2 separate regions of the Homo sapiens genome follow, and region 1 is linked to region 2. Evidence: promoter capture Hi-C in human tissues and cell types (Jung and others, 2019). All regions are on one chromosome and are shown on one strand. Each heading gives the region's core, a stretch centred on a gene start or on the middle of the fragment in contact. The rest is flanking DNA. Distances are from core to core; before and after follow the strand shown. Region 1 overlaps SFXN5 (sideroflexin 5). Region 2 holds the start of SFXN5 (sideroflexin 5).

Evidence for each region. Contacts are between HindIII fragments. The study calls those that stand out against the background at their distance.
Region 1: a fragment that was not itself captured here is called in contact with the fragment with the promoter of SFXN5 in region 2 in 2 of the 25 tissues and cell types used here (liver and spleen).

The regions. Positions count from the first base shown.
Region 1 is chr2:72,978,163-72,983,289 of GRCh38, reverse strand. All of the region lies in intron 10 of SFXN5 (sideroflexin 5), which reads left to right. Among named protein-coding and RNA genes, the nearest start is that of EMX1, 63 kb to the right of the region's middle. RefSeq lists an enhancer at 301-801. The HindIII fragment of the contact is 9,466 bases long and covers 1-5,127 here.
Region 2 is chr2:73,068,251-73,073,240 of GRCh38, reverse strand. It overlaps SFXN5 (sideroflexin 5), which reads left to right and starts at 1,529. Exons shown (of 14, transcript NM_144579.3): 1 at 1,529-1,637. The coding sequence starts at 1,536. RefSeq lists enhancers at 931-1,410, 1,611-1,660 and a silencer at 1,801-2,590. The HindIII fragment of the contact is 18,440 bases long and covers 1-4,990 here.

The sequences.
Region 1 (5,127 bases), core at 2,063-4,562, 92 kb after region 2:
TGGCACTATTTGGGAGAAGGTCTTCTGTTCATTCACAGGTGTGGCAAACCTGTTCCCTGACGTCCATGCCCCCTTCTCCCCAAGGCCACACGGGTCTTCATGTCATTGAACCCCTCTTTGCTCCACTGCTCCCCCTTTGTGCTCAGTCCACCCTGCTTCCTCCGTCTAGGAGTGGCCATGGCAGTGCTGCCCAAGTCTGGAGGGCCTACCCCCAGGTCAGAGCACAGCTCCCCAGGCCTCATCCCCTGTGAGCAGGAGGCAGCAGTGTGCACCTGTGGCAGCTTGTCCTGGGCCCTGTGACATCAAGGTCCATCCATCAAGGTCAGTGGTGCTTCACGTGGCATTCATGCCCTTCAGGCACCTCTGGATGCCATGAGTCCCTTCTTTGACCTGGCCTGCTCTTGCCTCTCCTGTGCCCCACTGCAGCCCTGGAGAACGCTGCCGTCCTCCTCTCCTCCCTCTTGCCGGGCCCCAGGCCTTTGCATGTGGCCCTGATGTCTGGATACCTGCTCTTCCCACTACCTCAAGCACCCTCTGCCCTCCCTCGACTACCAGGCCTTTGTGACTCTGCTCAAACACCATCTCCTCTTGGAAGCCCTCGCTGGGAGTCCCAGCCAGGGTTAGATGGCAGCTACCTGTGTGTGCCGATGTCTATCTGGGGACTGCCCGTGTTGTTTCCAAGCCTGCCTCCCCCATTAGACATTGAGTGCCCCAAGGCAGGGACTGGATCTCATCTACCACCACACTCAGCCCCCTCGGTGCCTGGCACACAGTCAGTGCTCAATGTGGGTTTATTCAATGATCAAATGAGTGCTTTGGCACAAAAGGTTTGAGATGAGTCACTCGTGGCAGAACCTCACCCTGATGACAGTGGTGGCCAGATTCTGTAGCTACCTGGACATTTATTCTGGACCTTTTCCACTTTTTAAAGTTGTTTTGGAGTGCTCTGTTTTCTTGTTTACATTTTTACCATCACTGTGGTCCACTCTTAGTCAGCAGGCCTAGGGTGGATGACCAATGGGCCCACCCCTTTCCAGATCATCCTGGGCACATTATCCAACCCTTCCAGGCCATTATGGCCCCGTCTATAAAATGGATACTAGTATCTCTAAGCAAAGTTTTCATGGGGATTGAACATGTCAATTTCCCAGCGTAGCATGAGCACCTACTAAATGTTGATCCTCTTCCAGCTCCACTCTGTTCCTCCTGCCCCAATCAGGGGTGGCACATTCCTGCCATCAGGGAACTTGTTCTTTGGGGGTAAGAGGTGGTTAGATGTTCAAAATGGCACGCACACACACACACACACACACACACACACACAAAGTTCCAGTGATAAGGGCAATAAAGTTTTATAGAGGATGAAACCCATTCGATAATCTCTCTAAATCACCTTCCATCACCTCTACGATTTTAGGAATCTAATATGAACTGAATTATGTACGGAAATGGTGTTTGTTGAGAAAAGGGCGGGGATAATTAGATCATGTTATCAAAGGAATATGTGGGCGTGGTGCTGTGGATTTTGAGGAGCCATGGAAGGTTGGGCTGGGCTGGGTGCCAGAATTGGTGGCAGCCTCAGAACTGGCATGGGCCCCTGCTGTGTGTCAGGCCCCAAGAGGACACAGGCAGTGGGTCCAAGGCAGCCAGAGGAAAGTGTCTAGTGTCCCAGGGCTCTGTCTTCAGTTTCATTCCCTTCAGTTATTTTGATGCCTTGGATGGAGGAGGCCTGTGGCTCATATTCAAAAAACAGGGACACCAACCTGGCAGGGATTGTGAATTCATGGGCAAGAGCACCAGGATCTAAAAAGATCCATCGAGGTGGGCCGATGAGATCTCACAAGGTTTGATGTAAGCCTTGCTGTTCAAAAAATGTAGGTGCACAAGTGTGAGGGTGTCAAGACCTGACTTGGCTGAAGTTCTCAAGACAGAGACCCGGGGGTCTCGTGTGCCGTGTGCTCAGAATGGGTCCCTGGTGTGGTGTGTGCCTCTGATGATGCTCACTCAGATTTCAGCTGCATTACTAAAGATAGAACACCAAGAACAAAGGAGTCTGTTTAATTCTGGCTGTACACGTCAAGAGTAGCTCTGATAAGTGGTAACGCCATAAGAGTGACAGGATCTTCTGAAAAAAATGAGAGCCTGTTATTGGAATGAGCTGCCTGACTCCTGGATTTGAGGGAAATGTCTGATTAGTAGACAGGCCCCAGAAGCTGTGAGGGGCACTCGCACGCGACCAAGGCACCTGTTTCCAAGCAGCTTGCTCAGGATCTGGCATACCGTAGGTGCTCCATAAGTGCTTGTTGCGTAAATGGCCTTCCAGTTCTGGGGTTTTATAATTCCTGAAATCCAGAAGGTAGAGAAGCCCAGAGGCAGAGAAAGTGGGGAGGTGTAATGCAGAGGGAGGGAGGGGCTATGCAGGAGGGGAATGCAGGAGGGGGCAGGGGGCCTGGCTGGGCTGGCCTGGCCTGCTGGGGAACAGAGGAGGGCATGTTGTCGCTATGAGTGTTAGCTTGGGGTTTGAGCTTTATCTTTGGTTGATGAGGAACCATTGAAGAATCTCAAGCTAAGAGGCAGCTGTGATAAAAAGGGGCTTTTTAAAAAGATGGATGTGTTAGCAGGAATCACATTAAGAGATTCCAAACTTCCGAGTCAGCCTACACCTAGACTTACAGGCTGATTTTTCAATCCAGAAATTCCCGATCCTGAGTCGGTGACACTTCAATATGGGTTGTGAAACTCTCCCCAAATTCTCAAGCTACTTAAGAGAAAATTTGTGCTGCTTACTTAGCACTGCCTCTCAGGTGGAATAATGGGGATTTTTGTGAAATCAAGCAAATATGAGGGCATGCATCCTTATTTGATAATCATCACTGTCTTAAAGGCAGAGGGGTTGTATTCTGCTGTGATTCGAGTGTGAGAGAGAGAGTATGTGTGAGTGTGTAAAGGTGGTAATATGCCTACATGTATATACATAGACCTTCCCGGGCAGGGACATGAGAACCTGGCTATAGTGGTTGCCTCTGGGGAGGGGGTAAAGTTTAGGGTTGGGAAGGAGACTTACTTTTTATTATTTCCCCTTTTACACCATTTGAATCATTGACTGTGTTGCCCACAACGGTGGAAGGAAGGAAGAGAGGGAGGGAGGAGAGAAGAGAGAAGAGGGGAGGGGAGGCCAGCATTACCTCCCACTTCTTGCAGAAGAGGAAGTGGAATATGGAAGTACTTAGTCCAACATCAGTCTTGAGCCAGAATAGCAGCTGAAGTCTCATGCTTGCTACTAGAGTGCTTGTTTGTTCGTTTTAATGAAAATGGCTCTATTTCTTTCTGATAATACATAATAGAATAAGCAATCCTACTTCTCTCTCCCGAGTCATTTAGTATATATCCCTCCAAATTCAAGTTAACATCTAAAAGTATATGAATCTCTGCCTATTATATCTATATGTAGTGTATAAATATGTCTATATAAATGTAACTTAATACAAATGGGTTCATATATAGATATATATATACTATTCTGTAAACTGCTTTTTAACCTCACAGTCAATTTTAGATGTCTTTCCATGGCAGTCATAAAATTGTAACTTCTCCTTAATAGCCACAGTAGTTTGTTCCATGGCTATTTTTAAATGATTTCTTTATTTATTTATTTATAGACGGAGTCTTGCTCTGTCACCCAGGCTGGAGTGCAGTGGCATGATCTCGGCTCACTGCAACCTCCGCCTCCTGGGTTCAAGCAATTCTTCTGTCTTGGCCTCCCAAGTAGCTGGGATTACAGGTGCATGCCACCATGCCTGGCTAATTTTTGTGTTTTTAGTAGAGACAGGGTTTCGCCATGTTGACCAGGCTGGTCTTGAACTCCTGACCTCAGGTGATCCACCCGCCTTGGCCTCTCAAAGTGCTGGGATTACAGGCATGAGCCACTGCACTCGGCCTGTTTTTTTAATTATGAAATTTTTCTATTAACATAGAAAATTGAAGAAATAGAGAAAGAGAACGTTAGATACACTCAAAGCCCTCTGCCTTCTTGATTCTGGTTTCTTTCTCTCCCCACAGAAGGCACCGACCTGGAGTTAGTGTATGCTTACCATTTAGGTTTTATATTTTAGCATATGTGCATGTACCATAAGCCATCAATTGTATTGTTCATGAATTTTTCAAAATTTATATTAACTGTACCATACTGTACATATCCTTTTGAAACTTGCCTTTCATTGTGGTTTTGAAATTTATTTATGTTAATACATATACATTCATTTCAGCTGCCATAGGCATTCGTACTGTGTGGCTATCCACAGGTGATTAATTGGGGACATTTAGGTTGTTTTCAGTCTCTCATTATTATACAGTCCTGCTCTAAACAACCTTGTGCTCTAAACAGCTCATGTGCACATGAGTAAGAGTTTCTCCTGGGCAAAAGTTTTCAAACCTTCATCTGTATTATAATCACCTGGGGAATTTAAAAAAAAAACAGATCTGGGCCCTACCTCAGCTTTGGTTTCACTTGTGCTGGGAATCGCCAGGCTAGCGTGTGTACCCAGACATGGAATGGACACATTAGAGGGTACATACGTTTCTAGCTTTATTAAATATTGCCAGGTGGGCATACGGGCATTTACCCAACCTGCAGGGTCTGAATTTTTGTTTCCCTACATCCTCTTCAATATTTGATATTATCAATCTCTTAAAATTTTTGTTCATCTGGGCCGGGCGTGGTGGCTCACACCTGTAATCCCAGCACTTTGAGAGGCTGAGGCGAGTGGATCACCTGAGGTCAGGAGTTCAAGACCAGCTTAGCCAACATGGTGAAAACCCATCTCTACTAAAAATACAAAAATTAGCTGGGCATGGTGGTGGGCGCCTGTAATTGCAGCTACTTGGGAGGCTGAGGCAGGAGAATCGCTTGAACCCGGGAGGCAGAGGTTGCAGTGAGCCGAGATTGTGCCACTGCACTCCAGCCTGGGTGTCAGAGTGAGACTCCATCTCAAAAAAAAAAAAAAAGAAAGAAAAAGAAAAATGCGTTCATCTGAACTGGTTTATTTCTCATTTTAATTTGCATTTTTCCAATTCCCAGTATAGTTGGGAACCTTTTCTTAACTTTATTGGACATTTGGGTTTCCAAAC
Region 2 (4,990 bases), core at 280-2,779:
AGCAGCCTGAACTTAGTCTTTTCTGACTCCCAGGGTACCCACATTTATTGCGCACCTAAGATGGGCCCATTTATTGGTAATACAGAGGGTAAGAAATGGATTCCTATTCTCAAGTTGCATGGTCTAGCAGGGGAAGATAAGATACAAATCCAAGATACAAATAGTTCTTCATGGCTAGATAGAATCTCTAAGATAAGATACAAATCCAAGATACAAATTGTTCTTCGTGGCTAGCTAGAATCTCCCCCTAGCTTTATGAAAAGTGTTTCTTGTGGTTCAACTACTAGAGGATGAAAAACTTTGACTGCTACAGCTCATGTAGTGTCCAGAAACACTGGCAGACATGAGCCAACCCTGCACTCCACCACGAGACTAATGAGACCCAAAGTGGAGTTCCCTAGAAGACCAAATATTTCTACTGTCATCTTGGGCAAAACAGGCAGCTCCCGAAGTCTGGCTCACTGACCAGGTAATTCAGCTGGGAATCTTCAGCTAATCCATTCTACAACTGTATGTGTTTATTATCCATACTGATCCTTACTCCACAATCTGTAATACTCCCCCTTACCTAACACCCTCCCCACCCACCCTAGTCCCAAGTTCTCCTCCTGCCCAGGAATTAGGCCCAGGAGGGATCTTCCTTGGTTGGCCAGACAAGGTGAAAGCTGCCAGGGCTCTTAATCCCCCACTGATGAACTCACAGCCAACACTTATTTGAGTCTCTACTGTGAGCCCTTTTATGTCTGGCTCTGAAAACTGAAGTGAATCAAAAAGTCATAGCCCCTGCCCTGTGAACTTTACAGTAAGAAAGACTGTCCAGAACAGTAAGTAGTTGTGAGTGCAAAAGAGAAGTGCTGGGTGCCACGGAGCCTCTGTGGGATTTTGTGCAAGCAGAGTGATGGACTGGGAAATGCAATGTTTAGGCTAAAGCCAGAAAGCCAGCATCAGGCGAAGATTTAGTCTTCCGGGTACAGAATGTTCAGGGGTCGGGAGGCGGGCAGGCCCCAGCATGCTCCAGGAACTGAGTGTCAGGGCAGCCGGAGAGCACAGGACGAGTGGGCAGGGTGGCGACGGAGGAAAGTACGAGAAGGTCCGCAGTGCAACTCCTTGGAGAAAGCCTTCCGAGGTTAACCCTACTCCGCCTGGAGTCTTTGCCCATCTGGTCCCAGGTTCCCCCTTGAATGGGACCCTTCTGCGCTGCCTGGCCCCAGGAGCGACGCCCACGGCAGCAACTCTAACTTCTGGGGGCAACTAAGCAGCGAGGGGTGGCCCGTGGTCGTCGTACAGGAACACCTTTCCTGGACTGCCGACCTTGCACCTTGCAACGCGGACAGCGGGCACCGAGACCTCTCCGGACGGCCGCAACTCTCCGCAGTCTACGGTTGTAAGCGCCGCGACGCGAAAAACTACACTCCCCACAACGCCTTGCGCCTCCCGCTCGCTGCGGTTGATTAGGGCCAATCGGGAGAGGCAGCTGTGGCGGGGGCCGAGGAGGGACATTTTAAAAGGGCCGGAGATTGCGGGCGTCAGTGGCCATGGCGGATACAGCGACTACAGCATCGGCGGCGGCGGCTAGTGCCGCTAGCGCCTCGAGCGATGCACCTCCTTTCCAACTGGGCAAACCCCGCTTCCAGCAGGTGAGGACCGGGCTGTGGTCTGCGGGCCGGCGGGTGGCAAAGAGAGGACGAGCAAACTCCCCTCCAAAGTCCCCTTCCGCCCAAGGGTCTCCCACCCGCGGCCAGCGGAGCCTGCAGCTAGCGCCAGGGGGGGAACCTCGGTCACAGTCACCCTTTTCCCATTGGTCAACGGGGCGGGCGCGGACTCCCATCTTGGCTTCCTATTGGCCCTTGGCGCCGTCACTCCCCGACTGCCCGCGCCCTCTAGCCTTTCCCGCCCGCGGCGCCCTGTGATTGGCCACCGGCGGCTGCGGTCAAGGTCCCGAGCGCCCGGCTTCGAGCGGCTGCTCAGGGTCGCTCCGGGTTGTGCAGCTGCCCGCCCGGGACGCAAAGTTCTAGTCTGGCCCTGGATGGGAAGTTGGCGTGGCCGGGATGCCTTCTAACTTTTTCCCCCGGTGGGGACTGACGTTCCTTTCGAGCTGCTGGCGGTGCCGCCGGGCAGCGTCGCGCCCCGCGGTCACTCCCCAGCCCTGGCCCCCAAGCCGGGCTCGGCGCGCGCAGCAGGTTGAGGGGGCGAGTGCCGAGGCGAGCGGCGGTCCGGCGTCCCCCGTCCCTGCTCTCCATCTCGGGCTGAGGATTCGCTGACGCAGCAAGCCGGCCGATGCCCTGAGGGGACGCAGCCAGGGCGTGCGGGGGAAACGCTGTGTCATCCCCTGGGGCCGTCGTCCCTCCGAGGGGCTGCCGCCTGGGAACCCCCCCCCAGCCTCTTCCTCGCTGTGTTCTCCGCGGAGGGTCTCCCGCGCCCGGGCCCCCGCGCCGCCGGGGACTGGCTCTGGGCACACCCGCTCAGGCTCTTCGGGGCACGGCGACAGGGGTCCTTTCCCTCCGGGACCTCCTCTGGGGCGTCGCCGACTCGGCCCTAGACTGCGGAGGCGGGGGTGGAACGCGGAGCCCGGGCGCCTGGTTGGGCCCGGAGACCGGAGCCGGGGAGGGGCCGCTCCCGCGCCGCAGACCCTCGGGCTCCCGCGCCTCCCGCACCAATGAGACGGAATTTATTAGGAAACAGGCAGAGAGACCGCTGAAGTGAACCGGGGCTTGCCAGGGGTGGGCGGCAGCCGAGGCGGCCAGAAAAGAACTTTGAAGGAAGAAAGGAAATTGTGCTAAGGTCGGTGCGGTGGCTTTTTTTTTCTTTTTTTGTTGTTGTGGTGGAAGGGGACTGGTTCCAGCAAGGGGGTGCCCCGAGCTTTGCTGATAATTAGGGAACTTGGCTCCTGAGCCGTCTGAAAAAAATGTCCCCAGTGTTTCTTAACAGGACTTTAATTCCTTTTAAAAGTAGGCCATCTCAGCATGTAGGTATCCGAGGCGAGACTGGCATCTTCCTTCCAGTGTAGGAGGCCATCTAGGGCGAGAGTGTCGGGGTGTCCCTGCCTGGACTTGAGTGACCTTATTACATTGCCTGTCCCCGCTCCCACCCCCATTCTGCTCGTTCTTAAAGGCTCAGTCGGGCCTGCCTCTCTGGCAAACACTTGCTCCCTTCTTCTCTGGTCCCATCAGATCGCAGGCTTCCTCCTGCACATCTCTTTGGCCACCTGAGTCAGATCCTCATAGCTCTCCATACAGTCTGCCCTGTGGTCTTCTAAATGTTTGCTGTGTGACGACTTGGTTTCCTCAAACCCCCTGTAGGCCTTTTGCAAGAAGGGGCTGATCTTGCCCTTCTCTGCCTCTGTCTTACCCTGATGGAGACAGGTTAGGCATATAGTAATGTGCCGAGTAAAAGATTTGTGTTTCCTTTTTTTTTTTCTTTTTCTTTTTGTCCTGGTGTCTGTTATCTGTATGTGGCACTAGGGACATTCAGTGACCTAACAGACATTTATCAAATACGTCTTAGTGGCTTATATGACTGAGCCCTGTGCTGTGAGCACTGCTCTAGAGCCATAGATAAACATTTTAGGCTACCCTGTTCCTGCAGCCATAGCGGTACTTCTTTTTGGCACTGCTCTTGAAGGCAGTAAAAGTGTTTGTTGTATGCACTTTTGAAGCTCCCCTCCTCCAGCATAGTGGCCTGCATAAAGCACGTTGCATGTGATTCATCCATGTTAAGGATCTTCTCTTTCCTCCATATCTGCTCCTCCCGCATGGCTCCCTGGCTCTGCAAACAGCCCAACTTGCCACCCAATCAATGCAGCCAGAAACCTGGGAGCCGCCTGTGTTCTTTCCTTCTTCTCCCTCACCCTTTAAATGCAACCAGAGGCCCAGTGATCTTACCTCTTACACAGCTCTCAAGTCCACCCATCTCTACTGCCAGAATCCTAGACCAAGCCCCCATCGTCTATTTCCTGGGTCACTGCAGTAGCCTCACAACAGGTCTCCCTGCTTCCACTCTGGCCCTCTTCCAGTCCTTCCTCTTTCTGCAAGTCAGAGTCCCAACAGTGCAGATCTGATCAAGGGACTCCCTACGCCCTTGTAGATTTAAATACCCTCCAATGGCTTCCCCTGCTTCTGAGATAAAGACCTCACTTCTGAAGGGGCCCCCAAAGTATGCATGGCCCACCCCACTGACTACTTCTTCCTTGAATCCCACCACCCACCCACCCACACTTCGCACCCTCCTTCACATCACACTGGCTGCTTTTCAGCCTCTGAACCCACCACGTTCCCTCCCACCACTGGGCCATCTGCTTGGAACATCACCTCTTCCTCTACCCCCAACTCTTGTTCCCATTCTTCCTCATCCCTGGTGTATCCATGAAGCATCACTTTCTTGGAGAAGCCTCCTGCACTCCCAGGTTGGATTTTTGAGTGTTCGCTTACTGCAAAGTACCTTTCTCGGTGTATACATTGATTTGTGATGAGTATTTCTTTGCCATCTGTGTCTCTCTGTTGACTATGGACTTTGCAGAAGTGGGGGCTGTGCCTGTCTTTACTCCCTGTTGACTCTCCAAGGCTCAGCACAGTGCCTGGCAGTTAAGAGGTGCTTAATGAAGATTTGTTATATACATGAATATCCTGGAGACAATTCAGTAGGGCTTTGCGGACTTGAATTAAATTGACTTGTAAGGTTGTGACTGGGGAGGTGGACCAACTTTTCTCCAAATTGTCCCTTAGGGATCTTACAAAATTGCAAGTGGTGTCATGTTTGACAGTGTAAGGTTCATCAGTGCTGAGACATCCCAGAGTTGGGGTGTCTCTAAGGAGGTGAGTCTAAAGACACAAAGGTTGGCTACATATGTACTGGGTTGATGAGCTCCTTTAGGGCCCAGCCCACATCTCTGTGTCCTGCCCTGGCATGTAATAGTTGTGTAATATATATGCTCATAGTACCTTGTGCTGGCCTGACAGAAGCCTGCTTCAAGGTGGTTGATAATCCAGGGTTC